Linked DNA regions of Homo sapiens: regions 2 and 3 are each linked to region 1. Evidence: promoter capture Hi-C in 16 types of primary human blood cells and fetal thymus (Javierre and others, 2016). All regions are on one chromosome and are shown on one strand. The core of a region is centred on a gene start or on the middle of the fragment in contact, and the rest is flanking DNA. Distances in the headings are between cores, read along the strand shown. Region 1 holds the start of CDK7 (cyclin dependent kinase 7). Region 2 overlaps CCDC125 (coiled-coil domain containing 125). Region 3 overlaps CENPH (centromere protein H).

Region 1 (3,576 bases), core at 801-3,300:
TCACACCTGTAATCCCAGCATTTTGGGAGGCCGAAGTGGGTGGATCAACTGAGGTCAGGAGTTCGAGACCAGCCTGGCCGACATGGCGAAACCCTGTCTCTACTAAAAATACAAATATTAGCTGGGCGTGGTGGCAGGTTCCTGTAGTCCCAGCTACTGGAGAGGCTGAGACAGGAGAAGTGCTTGAACCCGGGAGGCAGAGGTTCCAGTGAGCCGAAATCGCACAATTGCACTCCAGCCTGGGCAACAAGCAAAATTCTGTCTCAAAAAAAATAAAAAATAAAATAAAATAAAAAATAAAAAAATTATGGCAGGAATAATTGAGAAGAAGTAGTCAGTCAGGTTTTAAATGAATGCAAGACAGTACTTGGAGGCTGGAAGATGACCAAAAAAAGGGGGAATTAATGTTAAATATGGATAACTTCCAAGGAGTTAGGGTTTTTGAAGCAGGAGAAGCAGATTCAAAGTAGCAACGGTAACAAAAGCAACATCAGGACACCTGGATTTAAATCCCAGCTTCAGCAATCACTAGCTGTGTGATCTTGACAAGTCACCTAGTCACTCAGTCTCAGGTACCTCAAGTATAAAATAGGGTTACTTTTAACCACTTTATAGATTGTTTTGAAGGTTAAAAGAAACAATGTAGGTGAACGTGAGTTATGTAATTATGACCCAAATCTTTTTTTTTTTTTTTTTAAGATGGAGTCTCCCTCTGTCACCAGGCTGGAGCACAGTGGCACCATCTCGGCTCATTACAACCTCCACCTCCCAGGTTCAAGTGATTCTCCTGCCTCAGCCTCCCGAGTAGCTGGGATTACAGACAGGTGCCACCACACCCAGCTAATATTTGTATTTTTAGTAGAGACAGGGTTTCACCATGTTGGCCAGGATGGTCTGGATCTCTTGACCCCAAGTGATCCGCCCACCTCGGCCTCCCAAAGTGCTGGGATTACAGGCGTGAGCCACCGCGGCTGGCCCGACCCAAGTCTTTTGAATGAATATAAGAAGCTACTGAATCCGACCCAGGTCTTTTGAATGAATATAAGAAGCTACTGAACTCATTTTAGACCTCACATCAATGTTGTTCATGCTAGTGAAAGTCTTTCATGGTAAATCCGTACACAGAAAATACAGATACGACACACTGAGTGGATGCAGGTGAGGTATAAACAGTGACCTAGAAAGATCATGGTATCCAATAGTTCTGAGGACCGAAAAGATGGGCAGTACTTGCCCACAACATATGAATTTATGCAGTAAAAATAACATACAGCTTCTTCTTCATTTCAATAGAAATTAAAACGGGTTCAACCCTAGAGTTCCGTTTGGGAACACAAAGCACTAATTAATTATTTTGTCTCTGAAAATGACATGAGTAACTCATTATCAGAGTATGGTCAAGACTAATAAAATGGCTATCAGTCAATTAATAATACAGACATCTTCAAGGAGACTTAAAAACAACATAAAAAGGTAACTCACTTTCTTAATGGCGACAATTTGGTTGGTGTTCTTATCTCTGGCCTTGTAAACGGTGGCAAACTAGAAAGAAAAATAGAAATAACATAAGTTTATGGGAGTTTTTGTGTTTGCCTTTTTGCATTTTTACATTTCGCGAAGCAAAGAGCCCAGAGTTCCTGAGCAGACTCGCGGCGGCTGGAAACGTGGCGGGTCAGTCTCCGTCCAGCTCCAGGCTACTCTTCAGCAAGGAGAGGCCCCTCAGGGATTCACCCCCAGGATGTAAAGAATGGGCAGCAAGTGCGTCTGGACGGTTTCCCCCAACGAGAACGAGCAGCCAAGCCAGACCTCTGGCCTCCACGGGAAAACCCGCAAAGGTGGAGGCGGCGCGGGGCTGTCCGCTTGGGGCCCTCCCCGTCCTTCCAGAGAGCCTCACCTGTCCCTCCCCAAGGAAGTCCAGCTTCTCATAACGCTTTGCCCGAGACTTCACGTCCAGAGCCATCCGGCGCCGTAAAGCCCGACTCCAGCCGAAAAGGGCGAGCTCCCAGGACAACACGAATTTAAAGCTACCTTAAAGCCTCCAACACCCACTTCCGTCCACCGGGCTCCGTCGCTTTAGTATCCCCGCCTCACTTCCGTGGTGGGCGGAGGAAGCTGCGCTAGGCCCAGGCGGTTGGCGTTCCCCACCCGTCACGTGACGCCTGTCGGTGCCTGAAGTGGGGCATCTTCAATGGCTGCTGTGTCACTCTGTTGCCGTTTTAACTTGGGTGTTTTCTACATTACCAGGAACTGGTCAGCGTTCTAATTTGGTGTTCCATGTTCGGGGTTTGGTAGGTGTCTGTGAATGTAGAAAGTTTGGCCTTGTACCTGTTCTCGCTTTTTGGTTCTTGCTCGAGCGCGTCCTGTCGCCGTGGTTGCTATGGACGCCAAACCCTGCTATCTCAGATTACTGAGACGAGTGCCAAGTTCTTACGGGCTGGTCAAGAGTATTCTTAGTCCAGTCCCTTTATGAAGAAGCAGGCCCAGGAAAACAAAATCCAACTCAACTGAAACGTGCTGTGGGAATCAGCTTCTAGTCCTCAGTTTTCTACTCGGTAAAATGGAAAAAATAATGAACTACATCACAGGAGATTGTGGGTATTAAATGAAACATGCAGAAAGCTTAGACATTAACTCAATTAATTGAGACAGTGCTCAATTAACTTAGCAGTAATGAGTACCCAACCCCTTGATTATCATAAATTGTCATAACAAACACACTAATTCATTTATTCAAAAACATATTGAGTGCTTTTCCTTTTTCATTTTTCTCTCTCTTAGGATGCTGATATTGAGTGTTATCTATGTGCCAAGCACCATTGTAGAATCTGAGATAGCAGGGAGCAAAGATCCCTGCCTTCCAATGGGAGGAGATAAAAAAACAAGTCAAATATGTGTTATGATACATAGGTGATAAGTGCTATAGAGATAATAAAGCAGATAAAGGATAACAAATCAGGGCAGGGGCAGGGATGGAGGTTTTAAATAGGGTGGTACAAGAAAGTCATCACTGAAAACCCACTGGAGGGATTGGAGCAGACAAGTGATATGACCTGACTCACTTTTAAAAGGTTCACTCTTGCTGTTGGGAGACTATATTATAGATTTTGAGGGACAAGAAAAAGAAAGAAGGCCTATTAGAGAACTATTGCAGTAATCCAGATGGCTCTACTAGTGGATAATTAAAAGTTTCTGAGCCAGAGCAGCTGTCAACATGGAAATGTGCCCCCCTCCCCCTGCCTTTGTTTGTTTGTTTGTTTTTGAGACAGTCTCACTCTGTTGCTCAGGCTGGAGTACGCTGGCCCGATCTGAGCTCACTGCAACCTCTGCCTCCTGGGTTCAAGCGATTCTCCTGCCTCAGCTTCCCGATTAGCTGGGATTACTGGCCTGCTCCACCACACCCAGCTAATTTTTGTATTTTTAGTAGAGACGGGGTTTCACCTTGTTGGCCAGGCTGGTCTCAATCTCCTGACCTCAGGTGATCCACCCTCCTCGGCCTCCCAAAGTGCTGGTATTTGTAAGTGTAAGCCACTGCGCCCAGCCTATATTTGTTATTTCTAAGAGTTGAAAATCCTAAGT
Region 2 (3,576 bases), core at 569-3,068, 44 kb before region 1:
TTGCTGCTGTGTATGAAAACAAATGGCTATCAAGGCCGGGTGCAGTGGCTTACAGATCTGGTCTGAATCTCAAGTCCAGACCAGTCCAGAGTTCAAGACCAGCCTGGGCAACATGGTGAAACCCCATCTATACAAAAACTCGGCAAGGCATGGTGGCATGCACCTGTTGTCCCAGCTACTCAGGGGCTGAGGCAGGAGGATGGCATGAGCCCAGGAGCTTGAGGCTGCAGTGAGCTGTGATTGTGCCACTGCACTCCAGCCTGAGTGACAGAGTGAGACCCCCATCTCCAAAAGAAAAGGCTATCAATACAAAAGTTTATCTAAATTACTGTACAGCTATACAATGGAATACTCTACAAAATGGAGAGATCCATAAGATAAAGCAAATGAATAAAGCAAAATGCATGTGTTGACAGCTGTTGTGATACCTCAGTTCTTGTCTTCTTGGTTTAAAAGAATTTAAATGAGACAGCAAAGGAGATGCAGCATAATTTATTGCAAAAGAAAAGGAGTATTTTGAAAGTTAGGTGCAGAACAGACAGTACACCTGAGAGAGAGAATTCAGGGCCGGCTGCTCGTAAGGGTGAGACAGCATTGATTATTGCTGGAGAAACTCCCTTTATGGGAGTTTTGCATTATTATTCATAAGGAGGTGAGGTGTTGCAGTAATCATGTCCTGGGTGGTCCTCTGCACAGGTGCAGTAGCTGTTAATGCTTGTTCATACACCACATGTCTCAGTAGCATCTTAAATTTCCACCTAGAGGTGTGTTTTTTATTATTATCATGTGCAAAGGATCAGTTTGAGGACAGGTAAAATCAAAATGTGTATGCTCTCTAGAAGGGAAAGTCCCTACTGAAGATAGCTTTGCTTAAATGAGCTCAATTACAATGTGAATGCTGAGGTTTATTGTGTTGGCTGTATGGTCATGAGAAAATGGTCATTTCCTTGACTACCTGATACGGTTTGGCTGTGTCCCCACCCAAGTCTTATTTTGAATTGTAATCCCCATAATTCCCACATGTTGAAGGAGGGACTTGGTGGTAGGTGACTGGATCATGGGGGTGGTATCCCCCATGCTGTTCTCATGATTGTGAGTTCTCACGAGATCCAATGGTTTTATACATGGTAGTCTCTCCTGCTGCCATGTAAAACATGCCTGCTTCCCCTTCTGCCAGGATTGTAAGTTTCCTGAGGCCTGCCCAGCCATGTGGAGCTATGAGTCAATTAAACCTCTTTCCTTTATAAATTACTGAGTCTTGGGTAGTATTCTTTATAGCAGTTTGAGAACGGAATAATACACTCCTATCCTGCCTCACGTGTTAGACACATTTTGAGTGTCCTCAGATCCCTTTGGCGCTATTATCTCCTGGACTCTTAGCTGCTTGGCTGCTTCTCCCTTGGCAGCTCCCTGTCTACACACACACACGAGGAAGTCAGACAGATTTGAAGCACGAGTGGGTTTGATGCACTGCTGCTGTCCTGTGGTGAGTGCCACAGGACAAAGGCATGGAAGTTTCCTTAAGAAGCTGAGAGAGGCCCTGGGCTAACAGTCAAAAGGGAAATGGGGGCAATGGAGCACAAGAATTGCAACTATAAGAACTGCATGAGCGGCCGGGCACGGTGGCTCACGCCTGTAATCCCAGCACTTTGGGAGGCCAAGGTGGGCGGATCACGAGGTCAGGAGATAGAGACCATCCTGGCTAACACAGTGAAACCCCGTCTCTACTAAAAATACAAAATATTAGCTGGGCGTGGTGGCGGGCACCTGTAGTCCCAGCTACTCGGGAGGCTGAGGCAGGAGAATGGGTGAACCCAGTGGGCGGAGGTTGCAGTGAGCCGAGATCGTGCCACTGCACTCCAGCCTGGGCGACAGAGCAAGACTCCATCTCCAAAAAAAAAAAAAAAACAAACCTGCATGAGCTTGGTAGCAGATTCTTTCCAGGGGCCTCCAAATAAAACTAGTTTGACTAACACCTTGATTTTGGCCTTGTGAGACCCTAAGCAGAAAACACAGCTGAGCCAGATATATGGCCTACAGAACTGTGAGCTAATACATTTGTGTTACTTTAATTAGCTGGGCATGGTGGTACACATTTGTAATCCCAGCTACTTGGGAGGCTAAGGTAGGAGGATCACCTGAACCCCAGGATGCAGAGGTTACAGTGAGCTGAGATTGCACCACTGCACTCCAGCCTGGGCAACAGAGCAAGACTCTGTCTCATTAAAAAAAAAAAAAAAATTAACCAGGCATGGTGGTATGCACCTGTAGTCCCAGCTACTGGGGACAGAGGTGGAAGGATGGCTTGAGCCCAGGAGTTCGAAGCTGCAGTGAGCCATGATTGCACTACTACACTCCAACCTGGGCAACAGAGACTATCTCACAAAAAAAAAAAAAAAAAAAGGAGAGAGAGATTCTATCAATTTATATACAATTTTGAGACCCAAAACAATGCTGTACATTGTTATGCATCTCACTACATGCACTCTTACAGAATACTAGCATAAAATCATGGAAAGATACACACCAATTTCATAGAGTCATTTCCCTCTGGGGAAAGTGAAAAGGAAAAAATAGAAATAAAGTGAAGTATTGGCTGGGCGCGGTGGCTCACACCTGTAATCCCAGCACTTTGGGAGGTCAAGGCAGGTGGATGAAAAGGTCAGGAGTTCGAGACCAGCCTGGCCAATATGGTGAAACCCCATCTCTACTAAAAATACAAAAAAAAAAAAAATTAGCCAGGCGTGGTGGCACATACCTGTAACCCCAGCTACTTGGGAGGCTGAGGCAGGAGAACTGCTTGAATCCAGGAGGTGGAGGTTGCAGTGAGCCAAGATCGCACCACTGCACTCCAGCCTGGGTGACAGAGCGAGACTCCATCTCAAAAAAAAATAAAATAAAGTGAATTTTTAAGAGGGAACCTCTGGCCAGGTGTAGTGGCTCATGCCTGTAATCCCAGCACTTTGGGAAGCCGAGGTGGGCAGATCACTTCAGGTCAGGAATTAGAGGCCAGCCTGGCCAACATGGTGAAATCCTGTCTCTACTAAAAATATAAAAAAAATTAGGCAGGTGTAGTGGTGCGTGCCCATAATCCCAGCTGCTCAGGAGGCTGAAGCAAGTGAATCACTTGAAGGCAGAGTTTGCAGTGAGCTGGGATTGTGCCCCTGCACTCCAACCTGAGTGACAGAGTGAGACTTTGTCCCCCGCCTCAGAAAAAAGGTTGGGGGGAATCTCAATTTTATCTGTAATGTTTTCTTTTTTTAGTACATTCCGTATATTAATATTTGTTAAGTTTGGGTAGTATTTACTACACCACTACTACATTTTTTTTTTTTTTGAGACTGTGTCTTGCCCTGTCACCCAGGCTGGAGTACAGTGGCGCCATCTTGGCTCACTGCAAGCTCTGCCTCCCGGGTTCTCGCCATTCTCCTGCCTCAGCCTCCTGAGTAGCTGGGACTACAGGCGCCCACCACCACGCCCAGCTAATTTTTTTTGTATTTTTAGTAGAGACGGGGTTTCACCGTGTTAGCCAGGATGGTCTCGATCTCCTGACCTGTGATCCGCCCGCCTCGGCCT
Region 3 (3,576 bases), core at 604-3,103, 35 kb after region 1:
TTTGTTTTCTGTGACAGGGTCTCGCTCTGCCACCCAGGCTGGAGTGCACTGGCACAATCACAGCTTCCTGCAACCTCACCTCCTGGGCTCAAGCGATCATCCTGCCTCAGCCTCAGAAGCAGCTGGGATTATAGGCATACACTACCATGTCCCACTAATTTTTACATTTTTTGTAGAGACGGGGTCTCCCTATGTTGCCCAGACTGGTCTGGAACTCCAGGGTTGAAGCAATCCTCCCTCTTCAGCCTCCCAAAATGGTAGGATTATAGACATGAGCTACTGAGGCCCCACCCATTCTTTGGGTTTTGACATATGTATAATTACATGCATCCACCATTATTGCAGCATACAGAATAGTTTCAAGGAACAAACTGCTTTTTTACTTCTTTAACAAATATTTTTGAGTACTTACTACATGCTTTCAAGAACTATGCCAGGTGCCAGGAATGTAAAATAAAATAAAACACAGTATCTGTTTTCAAAGAGGAAAGAATCTAGTGGAGAAAAATAAATCCACAATCATACTATAGCGCAGTAACAAATATGAACCAGAGTTATGCACAGGGTGGAATAAGGATATGAAGTAATTGCCTAGATCAAGTAGTTTGGTATGGCTGGAGCAAAACAGTATGGAATAAGACTGCGCAGAGCAGTGGCTCTCATACTTCAGAGTGCCACAGTCATCTGGGAGGTTCGTTAAGTAAGGATTCCTAGTTCCTGACCTTCAGATATGCTGATTCGGGGCCTGGTTCAGTGGCTCATGCCTGTAATCCCAGCACTTTTGGAGGCTGAGGCAGGAGGATTGCTTGAGCTCAGGAGTTTTGAGACCTGGGCAATATAGCAAGACCACATCTCTATTTAAAAAAAAAAAAAAGGTCAGGTACAGTGGATCCCTTGAAGTCAGAAGCTCGAGACTAGCCTGGCCAACATGGCAAAACCCCATCTCTACTAAAAATACAAAAATTAGCCAGGTGTGATGGTGTGTGTCTGTAATCCCAGCTACTCAGGAGGCCGAGGCAGGAGAATCGCTTGAACCTGGAGGCAGAGGTTGCAGTGAGCCAAGCAGATCGTGCCACTGCACTCCAGCCTGGGTGACAGAGCAAGATTCCGTCTCAAAAAAAAAAAAAAAAAAAAAAAAAAAAAAAAAAGATACGCTGATTCAGAAAGTTTGGGATAGGACCAACAATGTGATCACTATAATAGACATTATTCTGATAATCAGCCAGGTGTGAAAAACACTGTAGAAGCAACTAACTGAGAAGGTCAAAAGGGGAATATGCACAAACCTGGGAGAGCTGAACTCATTTTTCTACTATTTACAGCTATATTTGGTTGTCTTAAAAGATAAATTTAGGCATATTAAAATCTAACAAGTTTATTTGAGAAGACAATTCATGCATCTGGCAGCACAGGATTATAAGCTGTTAAGTGCTCTACTGTGGGAGTTGAGTGAGGAAGCTTTTATAAGGTGTTCATAGAAGACAAAATGTAATTGGTTGGTTAAAGTGGATCATCTCTAGTTAGAAGTTAGTTGGCAGTTTCTCATTGGGTAAGCTTAAGTTCCATTTTACTGTTTACATCAGGCTTACATAGGAATCCCAAGGTGATGGAGCTCAAGGCTAAAGATGGTTCTGCCTAATGGCATTCCAGTTGCATCCCAATTAATTTTTTTTAACAGTTATAAACTTTAAAATGTGCTAATAAAACACTGCCTCAGCCTATTTGACCTTTCTGTTTTTTTTTTTTTTTTTTTTTGAGACAGAGTCTCACTCTGTTGCCCAGGCTGGAGTGTAGTGGCACAATCTCAGCTCACTGCAACCTTCGCCTCCTGGGTTCAAGCGATTTTCCTGCCTCAGCCTCCCGAGTAGCTGGGATTACAGGTACCTGCCACCACGCCCGGCTAATTTTTGCATTTTTAGTAGAGATAGGGTTTTACCATGTTGGCCAGGCTGGTCTTGAACTTCTGATCTCAGACGATCCGCCTGCCTCGGCCTCCCAAAGTGCTGGGATTACAGGCGTGAGCCACCGCACCGGCCTGACCCTTCTGTTTTTTGGTGTCAACAGTGAAACTGGCCCAATTGTCCCACAGAACTGATGTTTATGATTTCTTTTGAATAAACATAGAAACTGACCCTCCCAGTCTTAAAGCTTGAGAAAGTTACAACTGTCTTACCTGAGTTCCCTTCTCAGGAAACCATCAGGACTCCCAGATAGTATCAAGGAACTGAAACTTATAAGATCACACCCTCTAGACAATAAGACATCAGACCCCTCACCCATCATGATTGCCTAACCTGCTTCCTATTGACTAACTCCTCTTCCTTACCCCTCCCTAATTCCTGTCTTCCCATACATGGGTACATATCTTCCCTGCTATATAAACCCTTAATTTGGCAGGGTGTGGTGGTTCACACCTGTAATCTCAGCACTTTGGAAGGCCAACGCAGGTGGATCCCTTTGAGCTCAGCAGTTCGCGACCAGCCTGGGCAACATGGCAAAACCCCATCTCTACAAAAAATACAAAAATTAGCCAGGCACGGTGGTGGGCACCTGTAGTCCCAGCTACCTGGGAGGCTGAGGTGGATCACTTGAACCTGGGAGGTGAAGGTGGTAGTGAGCTAGGATCACGCCACTGCACTCCAGCCTGAGCAACAGAGTGAGGCCCTGTCTCAAAAAAACAAAACAAAACAAAACACCTCCTTAATTTTAGTCCATCTAGGAGATGAGACTGATCTCCCCTCTCTTTGGCTACAGTACTCAAAGCCTTCTTCCTGACAACACTCATGTCAGTGATTACATTTCTGTGCAGCAAGCAACAGGACCTAGACCAAAGCCCTGACATTTCAGTAACAATGTGATGAATCTGTCCTGCTCTCCTGCACCCCACACCTTTAACTCAAGAATGTCTTTTTTTTTTTTGTTTTTGAGATGGGGTCTTACTATTGCCCAGGCTAAGGTGCTGTGGCAAGATCACAGCTTACTGCAGCCCCATGACCTCCTAGAATCAAGGCAGGAGGCTGATCCTCTCCCCTCAGCCTCTGGAGTAGCAAGGACTACTGGTGGCTCCACCATGCCTGGCTAATTTTTAAAAATTTTTTGTAGAGATGAGGCCTCCCTATGTTGCCCAGGCTGATCTCAAATGCCTGGGCTCAAGCTATCCTCCTGCCTCAGGCTCCCAAAGTGCTGGGATTACAGGCATGAGCCTCTGTACCCAAGCTAAACTCTCCTTTTATGGGAGAGAAAAAGTTATGAGTGTTCAAATTCAGATTTTTGGATTTATGTAATCCTGGATTTAGCTGGAATATGGGAAAATGTGTAGCAGTGTGGGCTAAGATACTCAAGATAGAAGTGCCTAGGTCAGACCAGCCTGGCCAACATAGTGAAACCCCGTCTCTACTAAAAATACAAAAATTACCTGGGAGTTGTAGCAGGTGCCTGTAATCCCAGCTATTCAGGAGGCTGAGGCACGAGAATTGCTTGAACCGCAGAGATGGAGGTTGGAGTGAGCTGCACTCCAGTCTGAGTGACAGAGCAAGATTCCGTCTCCAAAAAAAAAAAGTGCTTATACCCATGCAG

The links. Contacts are between HindIII fragments. The CHiCAGO score rates a contact against its expected background, and 5 or more counts as called.
Region 2: a fragment that was not itself captured here is called in contact with the fragment with the promoter of CDK7 in region 1 in 1 of 17 cell types (neutrophils); the score reaches 8.1 in neutrophils.
Region 3: a contact is called between a fragment that was not itself captured here and the fragment with the promoter of CDK7 in region 1, in 2 of 17 cell types (neutrophils and total CD4 T cells). The highest score is 5.3, in neutrophils.

Annotation. Positions count from the first base shown.
Region 1 is chr5:69,233,360-69,236,935 of GRCh38, reverse strand. It overlaps CDK7 (cyclin dependent kinase 7), which reads right to left and starts at 2,050. Exons shown (of 12, transcript NM_001799.4): 1 at 1,895-2,050; 2 at 1,483-1,542. The coding sequence starts at 1,960. RefSeq lists enhancers at 1-88, 1,800-2,328. The HindIII fragment of the contact is 18,686 bases long and covers 1-2,621 here.
Region 2 is chr5:69,277,531-69,281,106 of GRCh38, reverse strand. It overlaps CCDC125 (coiled-coil domain containing 125), which reads left to right. Exons shown (of 12, transcript NM_176816.5): 12 at 1-932. Among named protein-coding and RNA genes, the nearest start is that of CDK7, 44 kb to the right of the region's middle. The HindIII fragment of the contact is 7,449 bases long and covers 1-3,576 here.
Region 3 is chr5:69,198,292-69,201,867 of GRCh38, reverse strand. The region is part of intron 5 of CENPH (centromere protein H); the gene reads right to left. Among named protein-coding and RNA genes, the nearest start is that of CENPH, 10 kb to the right of the region's middle. The HindIII fragment of the contact is 594 bases long and covers 1,557-2,150 here.